Linked DNA regions of Homo sapiens: regions 2, 3 and 4 are each linked to region 1. The links are contacts of gene promoters, found by promoter capture Hi-C in blood cells and fetal thymus (Javierre and others, 2016). All regions are on one chromosome and are shown on one strand. The core of a region is centred on a gene start or on the middle of the fragment in contact, and the rest is flanking DNA. Distances in the headings are between cores, read along the strand shown.

Region 1 (3,568 bases), core at 1,069-3,568:
TATTTATTATTACAACTTCCTAGATATAAAACTTTGTCAAAAACAGAATTACTTCAACTTATATGTAAATAGCCAATGGTCTAACACTTCATACAAATTTTCCTTGGAACATGTAAGTTTCACTGAGATAAAAAAAGAGCTATCTAAATGGATGACAAAAATATTCTGCATCAAATTGTTTGTATTTCCAACTCTGACAGTATGGCTATCACTTGGCATGCAGCACAACCCACTTTATTGCTCTACTACAGAAAGTTTAAAAGATAAACTATTAGCTCAAAGGCTGGAATTAATATTGTTAAAAATTTACATTTTAACTGTTCTGACTCCTAGTCTCTAAATAATTTCTTTAGTAACCTTTTTTTCATAAATATGGCTAAAAACCACTTTCCCCTACTCAGTTATGTTTATTAATGTTTCATTTGCCTAGGATAAACTCTTCACATCTCAAATATAAAGCTTTTTGTTGGAACTTAGAGGATTTACTCTTCAGAACAACTCGTACTACATGGAATTATGGAAAGCCCAGTGTTTCCCTACAAATAAAATTTACGTAATTTGGAGAGGCATTATTGCTATATCTACACCATCTCTGGGCCCTCTCCCGACGCTTTTCTGAAAAACAAAAAACAAAACAAAACAAACAAAAAAAAAACAAACAAAAAACCACGCTGACTGTTCAGAGCTATCAGTGAAGTCTGATGACTCATCTCATGCAGAGGCACGATGTGAATGTCGACAGAAGATCAGTATCCTCCCTCTTCTATTCACCATTCTCCCTGAAACACCGGATTTGGCACAGAGAGTAGGGCTAATGTCTCTGAAAAAATAGCTCAGCTTTCCATCAAAGGCTGGCACACTTACCCTTGTGTCAACTCAGCTAGAATGGCTTCGAGAACAACCAGTGACTATGGTTTATTTTTACAGAAAAGTTCTCTCCTATATGGTGGGCACGCACTCAGTCTCTTCCTCTTTTAATCCATGCTGCTACCAGTGGACAAATTAATCTTCCAAGCATAGATTTCTTTAGGCAATTACCTGAAACCTAAAACTGTTTCTTGGCAATCCACAGGAAAAACCCAAACCCACTGGCAAGAGATGCCAGTTTCCCAGCAACTTAGACCCAATATACCTCCTAGGCCTTATGTCCCACAACCATATCCTAAATATGTGCTTTTAGATGTCTCCTGATCTACCTGAAAGGCTTTTTCCCAAATCCTCTGACCCTTAAACAACCTCTGCCTCTGAAGAGCCACAACAGCATTCATTTATCTGGCCCTAAATCAACCGCCTCTGCAGTTGATTTACGTTTAGTTATATTCTCAGCAGCCCCGCCTAGACAGTAAACCTCAATTATCAGATTGTGTATTACCTCTCGTTTCATCTCCACAACACCTAACATACTTGTCATATAACGAAGGGACTCAAGTAATACTTTCAAGTTTGGATGATACACCTTTTGGAAAGCATCTCTTGAAAGGCATTCCATGAAAAGTTTATGCAATATTCCATGCATTTTTTTTTTTGTTCAGTATTTCAACACAAGGCCAAAGTCTAAACATTTCACACAACATACAGGAAAAAGAAAAACTAAGTATCTCTGATTAAGCATAATCGTACATGCCTGAGAAAGACCGATAGTAAGAAAAACAAAACAGAGAAGTGGTTTAGAGATATAATGACAGACACACCCGGGTTGGAATCCTGACTCTGCTGTGTGACCTTGGGCAAGTCATTGAACTAATCTGCAAATCCAATACTCGCTTATCAAATCGGAAACTGAAAACTGATGTGGGAAGGATTAAAAGGCGACATGCATGCAAAGCGTTAACTGCACGGCTCGTAACATGGTAAGTGCTTAGTACATGTTAGCTGTCACTCTTATTAAAAGGAAGGAGACCAGCAAAAGTAACCGCTGTGAATCTGACCCGGTCCTCTAGTTTCAGAGCATTTCCTAGGAGCTAAACTCAGAACACAAGGAGGATGGAGAGGATGGGTTTCCTGTTCTTAATAGCAAATGCTCCCCCCGACACCCTGGCTCACGGCTCGGGGCAACAGAGCAGCGAAGAAAGCGCCGCGACTCCATCGCTGGCCGAGGGCCGACGTGAAGCAGCTTTCCGGTGCGGCCCTGCTGGGCTGGCTCGCCAGGCTTGGCGCCCCCACGCCCGCCTCCCAGGCCCAGCTGCACCGCTAGCGGCTCCGAGCCTCGCCCCACTCCCGACTACAGGGAACTACTCCGGGCGGTTACCAGGCAGGAGCGGCAGGTGGTTGCCCATGTTGTGCGCAGCGTCCTGCTGATCTCCTTCGCCGGCCATGTCTGTTTACCCGCAAAGGAGGCTGGGACAGGGCGGTGCCGAAGACTCCGAGGGAGGGCCCGTGTCGCGCGGCTGCCGCGCACCGGGGCCACAGCGCCCCCTGGCGGCCCCAGGGGAGCAGACGGCGGCGCGTACCCAAGCCTGAAAGTGATGGCCTAGGCGGGAGGGACAATTACAGGCCTGCGCTCCGTCCCGGGGACAGAACGCCGTCCCCTGCCATCCACGGCTGAGTGCCCGGCGTACACGCTGCAGAGCCCTCACTTTGTTCCAGCCCTTAGCATGACTTATTTAATCCTGATATTTTGCATATGGAGAAACTGAGGCTGAGAGCCTTTAGTCTCCACCTTGTTTTTAAACGAAGGGGGCAGGGAGCAAATAGAAACCTGTTCATGCAGCATTAGTTTCAATTCTTAAAATAAGAAGCATATATGTGAAGGCTGGGGAAATCCATCAGTTATTCCGAGGGTGGTTGAATTATTGCTGATTTTCTTCAGTAGTTTCAATGTATGTACATACAACTTCAATAACTTCAGTAGTTTCCATATATGTACATTACATTCCAAAATTAACAAGTATTAATCAGAAACATACTTGAAATGATGATTGCACAGAATGGAAAACGCCTTATAATTGGTAAATAAAATTGTCTGAATATAAACTAGCCTACTCATTATGACTTCAGCTATGTAAAAACAAGTCACTGTGGCAAAAAAGAAAGACTATGTAAAAAATGAAGATAATTCTGTTATAATGGTGGAGTTGTGACTGGTAAGATATTTGTTTTGGAGGGAGGACAAAAGTTTTCGTAGTGTATTTCAGTATCACTTTTTCAGCGAGGAAGGAAAACTGAAAAATCCTTAAATGAAATACAACATCTAAACATGGTAGTGGTGGTGGTGGGCGGAGGCTGAGAGGAAGCAGCAGCATTGCTCAACAGAAAAGTCATGGATCTGAGATTTGAAAAAATGATTTCAGAAAATTTGCCTCCCTGATAAGTTACAAGCAGAAAACTCCCTTGTGACAGAGGCTTGTGAATCATTCCTGTGTCATTTTGCCTCCTGTCTCCGAATCAGTCTGTGGTCTTCGTCAAATCACTTATGGCTGCGGGCCTCAATTCGCCCATTTGCAAAATAAGAACGAACCAAATAGTGTCGCCTATTTGTTCCAGTTAATAATGTCTGCAACATGAATCATAGCATCACCTTTTACGATGAGGTTAATAACAATTACATATACTACGTAATGATTTAACG
Region 2 (3,568 bases), core at 318-2,817, 1.1 Mb after region 1:
GAGATAATCATGTGGTTTTTGTCTTTGGTTCTGTTTATATGCTGGATTACATTTATTGATTTGTGCATATTGAACCAGCCTTGCATCCCAGGGATGAAGCCCACTTGATCATGGTGGATAAGCTTTTTGATGTGCTGCTGGATTCAGTTTGCCAGTATTTTATTGAGGATTTCTGCATCAATGTTCATCAAGGATATTGGTCTAAAATTCTCTTTTTTGGTTGTGTCTCTGCCCGGCTTTGGTATCAGAATGATGCTGGCCTCATAAAATGAGTTAGGGAGGTTTCCCTCTTTTTCTATTGATTGGAGTAGTTTCAGAAGGAATGGTACCAGTTCCTCCCTGTACCTCTGGTAGAATTCGGCTGTGAATCCATCTGGTCCTGGACTCTATTTGGTTGGTAAAGTATTGATTATTACCGCAATTTCAGCTCCTGTTATTGGTCTATTCAGAGATTCAACTTCTTCCTGGTTTAGTCTTGGGAGAGTGTATGTGTCGAGGAATTTATCCATTTCTTCTAGATTTTCTAGTTTATTTGCATAGAGGTGTTTGTAGTATTCTCTGATGGTAGTTTGTATTTCTGTGGGATCGGTGGTGGGCGAAGGACATGAACAGACACTTCTCAAAAGAAGACATTTATGCAGCCAAAAAACACATGAAAAAATGCTCACCATAACTGGCCATCAGAGAAATGCAAATCAAAACCACAATGAGATATCATCTCACACCAGTTAGAATGGCAATCATTAAAAAGTCAGGAAACAACAGGTGCTGGAGAGGATGTGGAGAAATAGGAACACTTTTACACTGTTGGTGGGACTGTAAACTAGTTCAACCATTGTGGAAGTCAGTGTGGCGATTCCTCAGGGATCTAGAACTAGAAATACCATTTGACCCAGCCATCCCATTACTGGGTATATACCCAAAGGACTATAAATCATGCTGCTATAAAGACACATGCACACGTATGTTTATTGTGGCACTATTCACAATAGCAAAGACTTGGAACCAACCCAAATGTCCAACAATGATAGACTGGATTAAGAAAATGTGGTACATATACAACATGGAATACTATGCAGCCATAAAAAATGATGAGTTCATGTTCTTTGTAGGGACATGGATGAAATTGGAAATCATCATTCTCAGTAAACTATGTCAAGAACAAAAAACCAAACACCGCATATTCTCACTCACAGGTGGGAACTGAACAATGGGAACACATGGACACAGGAGGGGGAACATCACACTCTGGGGACTGTTGTGGGGTTGGGGGAGAGGGGAGGGATAGCATTGGGAGATATACCTAATGCTAGATGACGAGGCGGGGAGGGATAGCATTGGGAGATATACCTAATGCTAGATGACAAGTTAGTGGGTGCAGCGCACCAGCATGTCACATGTATACATATGTAACTAACCTGCACATTGTGCACATGTAGCCTAAAACTTAAAGTATAATAAAAAAAGAAAAAATAATAATAAAACCCCGCAATTTGCTTTTACATAGTAAAATAAAATGTTTTTCTTTTTTTTTTTTTTTTTTCAGATCAATGTTTAATGATAGGTTTACACAGTTGTGTGATAGCTTCTGTTGGCACAGGAAACACTACTACATACTCAGAAACATACTTCTATTACTTCCCATGATCACAATAGCAACCAGGTTTAATATTACTTCCCCTGTTTACATACACAGAAACTCAGATTAAAAAAAAAATCTATCCAGTGCTAAGTAGCCAATAAATGGCAAAGACTGAACTTGAACCCGTATCTAATTAACTTTAAATCATGTGCATTTTCTACTCAACCACTCTCCACTTAGCTACTTAATGCATTCTTCTAGTTAATTTTAGCATCACAGGACAGAAAAAAAATACCTTTAAAAAAGACATTTAGAGTGAATGTGTGTGTGTGTGCGTGTGTGTATATATACATATATATATGCTTTCACTTAAGTTGCAAATCATAGCATGCTCCGGTAGTATAAGGAAACTGTTCATAGGTCTAAAATATGGTCTTAAACATATTTTTAAGTGTTAATTTTTAAAGTAACTTTTTAACCATACAGAAAGGGAAGTGAACATACCTCTGGAAACACCACCCAGATCAGTGATGATCCTTGCCTCATACTGCTGTACAGCAAAAATAATCACTGCCATAGATGTGTTTTGGCTGTCTTTTGATCTTTATACACACAGAATCATTTTTTTATTATACTTTAAGTTTTAGGGTACATGTGCACAATGTGCAGGTTAGTTACATATGTATACATGTGCCATGTTGCTGTGCTGCACCCATTAACTCGTCATTTAACATGTTAATGCTATCCCTCCCCACTCCCCCCATCCCAAAGAATGAAAGAATTACAGGATTGTATCTCAGAAATGTTTGCGCTTCATAATTCACTATTAGCAACACAAACTTACCAAAGGCCTATAATAGCATTCCAATTTTTTAAACCTTAAATTCAGAAATACAATTTTAATCCAGAGCTAGTCATGAATCATAATTAAAGCGTGTTTAGCAGATACATGCAAATATCAAACAATCTTAACCAAAGTGCCATATTCCAAATTACTTGGTATTTGCAGAAGATAAGGCAGCACTACAGGACAGAGGAGAGTTAACAAAGACCAGAAGCGGGGGAAAGAAAGAATGAATGGGTGAGTTGTTATCCTGATAATCAAAAATTCACATTTCCCAAAACCCAACAGTCCAAAGGCAAGACAGGCCAATTCCTTAAGTGGAATAATATTGGAAGCCATGAAGCTCACAATGGCACTTCCATTCAACTACTAATGCACAAAATTCTACCAGAAATGCATCCCTCTGAGGATCTGGCCCTATTAAATTCTCATCCTTCTCTGGACAGACTAGAAAATGTAGGGTATACAATACAAGCTGCTCTTAGCTACCTGCACTCTGTGTAAGGACAGTCTACAAGAGGGAACTTTTTGAAGGTGAAGAGCTGATGATGAAGTAATGATACCATGTATTAAGTGACTTATGTCCTAAGCTTTTTACAGCTACCATCTCATTTAGTCCCCACAGAAGTACTACAAATAAGGTATTTTTAATCACATTTTATGTATAAGAAAGCCAAGGCCCAGAAGAGGTAGGTCATTTACCCACGGTTCAGGAGGAACAAACGAAGAAACTGGGGTCAGAGCCGGACTATCAGGGAAACTAAATTGATGATACACTGATGCTGAGTCAATGACCTTGGGCTCCTTATAAAGGAGCCTCAGTATTGAAATAATTAAGCACTGAAGTAAGCACTGAAGTAATACTGACTATAGGTGATAAAGTGGTCCCAGGTCTCCATCTGCAAGAAAACAAACAGGGAGATCAAGAGAGGGAAAGTCTCTTCCTTCTTCTCTCTTCCTTTCCCTTCCCTTATTTTCACTTCTCTTCTCTCTTTGCTCTCTCTCTCTTTCTCTCTCTCTCTCTCTCACACACATACACGCACACACACACCACCCACTTAAATTCAAAGGATACAGGTAAATAGAAAGCTTAAATCATTTAATAAGCAATGAATTTATAATTACAACTCCTAATTCTTAAG
Region 3 (3,568 bases), core at 725-3,224, 1.1 Mb after region 1:
CTAGTATTAATTTAATGGGATAATATTTTAAAGATTAACTGATATATTTTTGTCCTGGGTAAGTCTCATTGCCCAGTGATGCTCTAGCCATTGAGGCTGAAGTGTCCACTGCTGAAGAGCAAAATCAGCCTGAAAACAAAGGAGTCATTGCTCAACCTCAACATTCAGAATAGACTGTTTTAAGTCATAAAAAGCATGCCAGTCATGAAAGGAACTTGTTTTAACTACAAGAACCACACACTTAAGGAGGGGGAGAAAAGGTTTTCTGAATTCCAGAAGCTTTGCTGTATATTAAAAACCAGTACCTCATTAATTCAAGACATCACTTTTTTGTTTTCCTGTAAGCAGTAGAGAAGAAAAGATACAAGACACAAGGCAAAAGCAATTTCCCACTAAAAAGAACGGCCCTCAAAACCATTCCTAGTCTGGATTAATGAGTGGCAAGATAAAAAGAGAAGCTTTAGACATAATTGAGGGCTTCTGCCACATCCCCCCTTGCATCACCACATACCTGAGATTTCATTTCTGGAATGGGAGAATTGATATAAGAAACATCCCACCCCTCAGCTACACTTTAGAATCCAAAAGCAAAAGGGACTTTTTTCCTGCTTCCACCTGGAATCCCAGGGAAATGCAATCATTCAGTGTATAATCTAGCAACATGGGGTGGCTATTGAAGAAAAAGAGAACTATAGACAGAAGGAAACAAGTATAGGAAAAGAAAGTGTTGATGAGAGCAACATGTTCCTAGAGCCTGCATGTGGTATGGAGGAAAACCGGACATTCCCACCTACCCACACTGTGGCCTGCAGACTTGCTGAGAGGATCAGCTGACTCAAAGAGCCCTGACATGGGATCAAGAACACAAACAGACCACCAGTGGCCGTGGCAGTTCATGTGCATGTGCATCTGCATGATCTTTCGTCCCCTTCTCCTTCACTTCTCACTGAGTGGCCTTGCTGGTGTGCCTGGAGCCACTTGGCCCATGAGGCACATGGGGTCACCTGCTCCTAACTCAGAAGGTATCTTCTTAATGCATTGGCTTCAAAATCAGTAGAGAAAATAAGTTCTGTGTTCTCTAGCAGAGTGGGTATAATTTGGCATTCAGCAAATCAAATATCAAAGGAATTTTAGTCTGCTATGAACTATGCATTCTACTGAGTGCCAAAACCAAATATAATATACAGACAGTCTTATTTTATTCTGCTTCACTTTATTGTGTTTCACAGATATTTCATTGTTTACAAATTGAAAGTTTATAGCAACTCTGAGTCTAAGTCTATTGGCCTCATTTTCTCCAACAGCATATGCTCACTTCATGTCTCTGTGTCACGTTTTGGTAATTCTCGCAATATTTCAAATTTTTATTATTATTTTATCTGTCATGGTGGTCTATAATCAGTAATCTTTGATGTTACTATTGTAACTGTTTGGGGGCACCACAAATCACGTCCATATAAGATGGCAAACTTAATAAATGTTTGTGTTCTGACTGCTCTACCAACTGGTCATTCCCTTCTTTACCCTCTCCTCCAGGCCTCCCAATTCCCTGAGACACAGCAATATTGAAATTATGCCAACTAATAACCCTAAAATGGCCTCTAAGTTTTTAAGTAAAAACACGTCTCTCACTTTAAATCAAGAGAGTTAGAAATTATGAATCTTAGTGAAAAAGGCACATTGAAAGTCAACAAAGGCTGAAAGCTAGGCCTCTTGTACCAGTTACCTAAGTTGTGAATGCAAAGGAAAACTTCTCCGAGGAAATTAAAAGTGCTCCTCCAGTCAACACACAAATGATAAGAATGCAAAAGAGTCTCATTGGGCCAGGGGCAGTGGCTCATGCCTCTAATCCCAGCACTTGGGGGAGGCCGAGGCAGGTAGATCACTTGAGGCCAGGAGTTTGAGACCAGCCTGGCCAACATAGTAAAATGCTGTCTCTACTAAAAATACAAAAATTAGCCAGGCATAGTGGCACACACCTGTAATCCCAACTACTCAGGACATGAGGCACAAGAATCGCTTGAACACAGGAGGCAGAGGTTAGTGGAAGCCAAGATTGTGCCATTGCCCTCCAGCCAACAGATCAAGACAAGAAACGGAGGGGGAAGGGGGAGGGAGTGAAGGGAGAGAAAAGAAAGGAAAGAAAGAAAGGGAGAGGGTGAGGGAGAGGGAAAGGAAAAGGGAAAGAGGGGGAAAGGGGGAAGGAAGGGAAGAGGGAAGGAGGGAAGGAGGGAGAGAAGAAGGGAGGGAGGGAAGGAAGGGAAGGGAAAGAAAGGAAAGAAAGTAATCTAGCAGACGTTGGCTCATGAGGTTTGAGAAAAGCCATTTCCTGAACATGAAAGTGCAAGGTGAAGAAGCAAGAGCGGATGGAGAAGCTGCAGCAAGCTATCCAGAAGATATAGCCAAGATAATTCATAAAGGTAGCGACACTGAACAACAGATTTTCAATGTAGATGAAACAGCCTTATACTGGAAGTAGAGGCCATCTAGTATTTTCATAGCTAGAGAGGAAAAGTCAATGCCTGGGTTCAACACTTCAAAGAATAGGCAGACTCTCTTGTTAGAGGCTAACACAACCGGTGACTTAAAGTTGGAGCCAGTGCTCATTGACCATTCTGAAAATCTTAGGGCCCTTAAGAATTATGCTAATTCTAATCTGCTTAAATGGAATAACAAAGCCGAGATGCAATCATGTCTGTTTACAGCATGATTTACTGGATATTTAAGCCCACTGTTGAGACTTGCTAATCAGAAAAAAAGATTACTTTCAAAATAGTACTGCTCATTGATAATGTACCTGTTTACCCACGGGTTCAAATGGAGCTTATAAACAAGGAGATGAATGTTGTTTTCACACCTCCTAACGATATTCATTCTGCATTCCATAGATCAAGGAGTAATCTTGACTTTCAAGTCCTTTTATTTAAGAAATAAATTTCATAAGGCTATAGCTGCCATAGATAATGATTCCTCTGATGGTCCTAGGCAAAGCAAATTGAAAGCCTTCTGGAAAGGATTCACCATTCTAGATACCATTAAGAACATTCATGATGCATGGAAGTCAAAATATCAGCACTAATAGGAGTTTGGAAAAAGCTGATTCCAAACTTCGTGGATGATTTTGTGAAGTCCAAGACTTCAGTGGAGGAAGTAACTGCCTATGTGGTAGAAATAGCAAATGAACTAGAATTAGAAGTGGAGCCTGAATTGCTGCAATCTCATTATAAAACTTTCACTGATGAGGAGTTGCTTCTTATGGATGAGTGAAGAAAGTGATTTCTTGAGATGGAATCTACTCCTGGTGAAGATGCTGTCAACATTGTTGAAATGACAACAAAGGATTTGTAATATTACATCAATTTAGTCAATAAAGCAGCAGCAGGGTTTGAGAGGATTGACTCAAATTTTGAAAGAAGTTCTGTGTGTAAAATGCACATCATCACATGCTTTACAGAGAAATCTTTTCTGAAAGAGAAAGTCCATTGATGTGGCAAGCTTCATTGTTGTCTTAAGAAATTACCACAGCCACCCCAACTTTCAGTGACCTCCATCCTGGTGAATATTCAGA
Region 4 (3,568 bases), core at 643-3,142, 1.0 Mb after region 1:
CCCCCTCTAGCCATCCTGTCCCACCTAAAGGGTAAGGAGAGGACTAAGAAGTATTTGCAACTGTCATGGTCCAGGGACACAGTCTCATAAAAAGACTGAAACCTACTCATAGGACTAATGTTTTCCCTCCCTATAAAACTTACCGCTACTTTACTAAAGGCCTATTTACTGCAGTTCCAGTTACCCAGTATATCATGTCAACCTTTCTACAGAAAATTTATAGGACATTCTAGAAGGCAAAAAAAAAAAAAAACTGTGAGGAGACAAAACAAGCATCATAACCAGAGATAGATATGGTAGAAATGTTAAAATTATCAGACTAGGATTTTTTTAACTGCAATTAATATGCTAAGGTTAATGGCAGAAAAGATGAGTAACAAGCGGAGAGACGAAAATTCTAAGAAAGAACCAAAAGACATGCCAGACATCAAAAACACTGTAGTAGAAATGAAGAACGTCTTTAATGGGCTCATTAGTAGACTGGACGTGACTAAGGAAAAAAACCCCAAGCTTGAGTATGTGACAATAGAAACTTTCCAAACTGAAAAGAAAAAAGACTAACATAAAATCCAAGAACTGCTGGACAACAACCAAAGAGGAAACCAAAGAGGTAACATATGCACAATGGGAATATCAGAAAGAGAAGAAAGAGATCTGTTGCTAGACTCAGATTAATATTTTGTTAAGGATTTTTGCATCTGTGTCCATGAAGGATATTGGTCTATAGTTTTCTTGTGATGTCTTTGTCAGCTTTGTCTGGCTTCATTAAAATGAGTTGGGTAGAAGTTCTCTCCTATCTGTTTTCTGAAAAAGTTTGTGTAGAATCAGTATGATTTCTTCCTTAAATACTTCACAAGATTCTCCAGTTAAAACATCTAGACCTGGCCACTTTATGGGATATTATCCTTTTAATGATTCAATTCAATAAAATTTTATTGGGTACCTATTATATACGTGCTGCTGCAGTTGACTTTAAGGACCTACAATTTCCAATATGTATAAATTTTACACTCTACTATAAAGATTTTTAAAATCCTACATACAAAAATCAACCATGCCATAATACAAGGTACTGTTTAATTATGTGCAAACATCATGGAGAACAAAACACTAACTGAAACTTTATTCAAATTCAGTTTCTGTCATTACCTGGTAGTTGAACCTTAATCACTTAAACATCCTAAGTTGCAGTCTCCTCATTGTAAAATAATAAAGTTCGATGAGAATACTTCTAAGATCCTTCCAGTATTTAAATTATTTAATCTATAAGGAAAGTTTAAAATTAAACTTTATCACAAATGACAATCTAAGAAAAATGTTTATAATTAAAAGCCCAGACAAAATATTATTCCAAATTTATTAGATCTTAGAGATCAAGAAGAAAAAAACAACAATATAATAGAAAAATAACATTCAGAAAAAGAAACACCAAATGATCCTTAAACACATGAAAATTACTGAACATCAAAATCAACTATATGCTAACAAGTAACTGGAAAATATAATTTTAGAAAGATAAGCATTTAAATTGCAATAAAAGACATCAAATACTTGGGAATACATTTATCAAACTATGTATAAGATCACTACGCTAAAGACTACCACAGATTGCTGAGAGAAATTAAAGAAGGCCAAAATAAATATTCATGGATTTTAAAATTTAGAAAAAAAAATTTTTTTTGAGGCAGAGTCTCACTCTGTCACCCAGGCTGGAGTGCAGTGGCACGATCTCAGCTCACTGTAACCTCCACCTCCTGGGTTCAAGCAATTCTCCTGCCTCAGCCTCCCGAGTAGCTGAGATTACAGGTGTGTTCCACCACACCTGGCTAATTTTTGTATTTTTAGTAGAGACAAGGTTTCACCATGTTAGCCAGGCTGGTCTTGAACTCCTGACCTCAAGTGATCTGCCTGCCTCAGCCTCCCAAAGTGCTGGGATTACAGGTGTGAGCCACTGTGCCCGGCCAAAACTTAGAAATATTAACATGTCAATTCTCCTCAAAATGTATCCATAAATTCAATGCAATCCAAATAAAAATTCCAGCAGACATTTTCTACATTTATTGGAAAATGTACATGAAAACACAGATGACCTAGAAAAGCCAATACAATCTTGAAAAAGAACAAAACTTGAGGATTTACACAACCAAATGTTAATACTTAGAAAAAAGCTACAATAACTAAGGCAATGTGGTATATACACCAATGGAACAGAATAAAGACAGCCCAGAATTAGACCCACACATATTGTCACCAATTTACATACCACTGAAGTTCAAAGGGGAAAGAACGACCCTTTCCCAGTCCCCATAAATGGTGCTGGATCATTGGAAAACTATATGGAGAAAGAGGAACCTTGACTCTTAAATTCCACAATGCACAAAAATTTTTTTTTAACTTTTAAGTTCAGGGGTATATGTGCATGTTTTTTACACAGGTAAACTTGTAACATGGGCATTTATTATACAGATTATTTCATCACCCCATGTGATGGTTAACACTGAGTGTCAACTGGATTGGGTTGAAGGATGCAAAGTATTGATCCTGAGTGTGTCTGTGAGGGTGTTCCCAAAGGAGATTAACATTTGTGTCGCTGGGCTGGGAAAGGCAGACCCACCCTTGATCTGGGTGGGCACCACCTAATCAGCTGCCAATACAGCCAGGATATAAAGCAGGCAGAAAATCATAAAAAGGCTAGACTGGCATAGCCTCCCAGCATACATCTTTCTCCTGTGATGGAGGCTTCCTGTCCTCAAACATCAACTCCAAGTTCTTCAGCTTTGGGACTCAGACTGGTTTCCTTGCTCCTCAGCCTGCAGATGGCCTGTTGCAGGACCGTGTGATTGTGTGAGTTAATACTCCTTAATAAACTCCCATATATATATATATATATACACACACACACACATATATACATATACATATATATACATATATATACACACATATATATACATATACATATACATACATACATATATATATATATATATATATATCCTATTAGTTCTGTTTCTCTAGAGAACCCTGACTAATATACCCAGGTACTAAGCCTAGTACCCATTAGTTATTTTTCCTGATCCTCTCCTTCCTCTAACCTCCACCCTCCAGTTGGCCCTAGTATGTGTTGTTCCCCTCTCTGTGTCCATGTGTTCTCATCATTTAGCTCCAATTAATAAGTGAGAACATGCAGTATTTTATTTTCTATTCCTGCATTAGTTTGCTAAGATAATGGCCTCCAGCTTTTGAAAGAGGTAAACATGAAAGAGAAAATAATAAAGCTTCCAGAGGAAAATATAAGAGAATATCTTCATGACCTTGAGGTAAGGAAGATTACTTAAACCGGACACAGAAAACTCCAATCATTTAAAAAACATAGACAAGTTCAACTTCATTTAAATTAAGATCTTCAATTCTCCAAAAGATGCCATTAGACTATAAACTACAAGGTATTGGTACTATAAGGTAAAACCACAATTAAATATCACTTCATCCTCACCAGATTGGCTAAAATTATAAGAACTGATAATACATCAAGTCTTAGCAAGGAGTAGGTGGTTTTATGCTCATA

The links. Contacts are between HindIII fragments. The CHiCAGO score rates a contact against its expected background, and 5 or more counts as called.
Region 2: a fragment that was not itself captured here is called in contact with the fragment with the promoter of CRBN in region 1 in 7 of 17 cell types (naive B cells, total B cells, M2 macrophages and 4 more); the score reaches 9.1 in naive B cells.
Region 3: a contact is called between a fragment that was not itself captured here and the fragment with the promoter of CRBN in region 1, in 2 of 17 cell types (M2 macrophages and M0 macrophages). The highest score is 7.0, in M2 macrophages.
Region 4: a contact is called between a fragment that was not itself captured here and the fragment with the promoter of CRBN in region 1, in 1 of 17 cell types (M2 macrophages). The highest score is 5.8, in M2 macrophages.

The regions. Positions count from the first base shown.
Region 1 is chr3:3,177,373-3,180,940 of GRCh38, forward strand. It overlaps CRBN (cereblon), which reads right to left and starts at 2,319. Exons shown (of 11, transcript NM_016302.4): 1 at 2,249-2,319. The coding sequence starts at 2,315. RefSeq lists a silencer at 2,383-2,552. The HindIII fragment of the contact is 7,719 bases long and covers 458-3,568 here.
Region 2 is chr3:4,266,975-4,270,542 of GRCh38, forward strand. It overlaps a transcript of SUMF1 not described here. Among named protein-coding and RNA genes, the nearest start is that of SETMAR, 35 kb to the right of the region's middle. The HindIII fragment of the contact is 2,894 bases long and covers 121-3,014 here.
Region 3 is chr3:4,248,080-4,251,647 of GRCh38, forward strand. It overlaps a transcript of SUMF1 not described here. Among named protein-coding and RNA genes, the nearest start is that of SETMAR, 54 kb to the right of the region's middle. The HindIII fragment of the contact is 3,037 bases long and covers 457-3,493 here.
Region 4 is chr3:4,208,232-4,211,799 of GRCh38, forward strand. It overlaps a transcript of SUMF1 not described here. Among named protein-coding and RNA genes, the nearest start is that of SETMAR, 93 kb to the right of the region's middle. The HindIII fragment of the contact is 2,768 bases long and covers 509-3,276 here.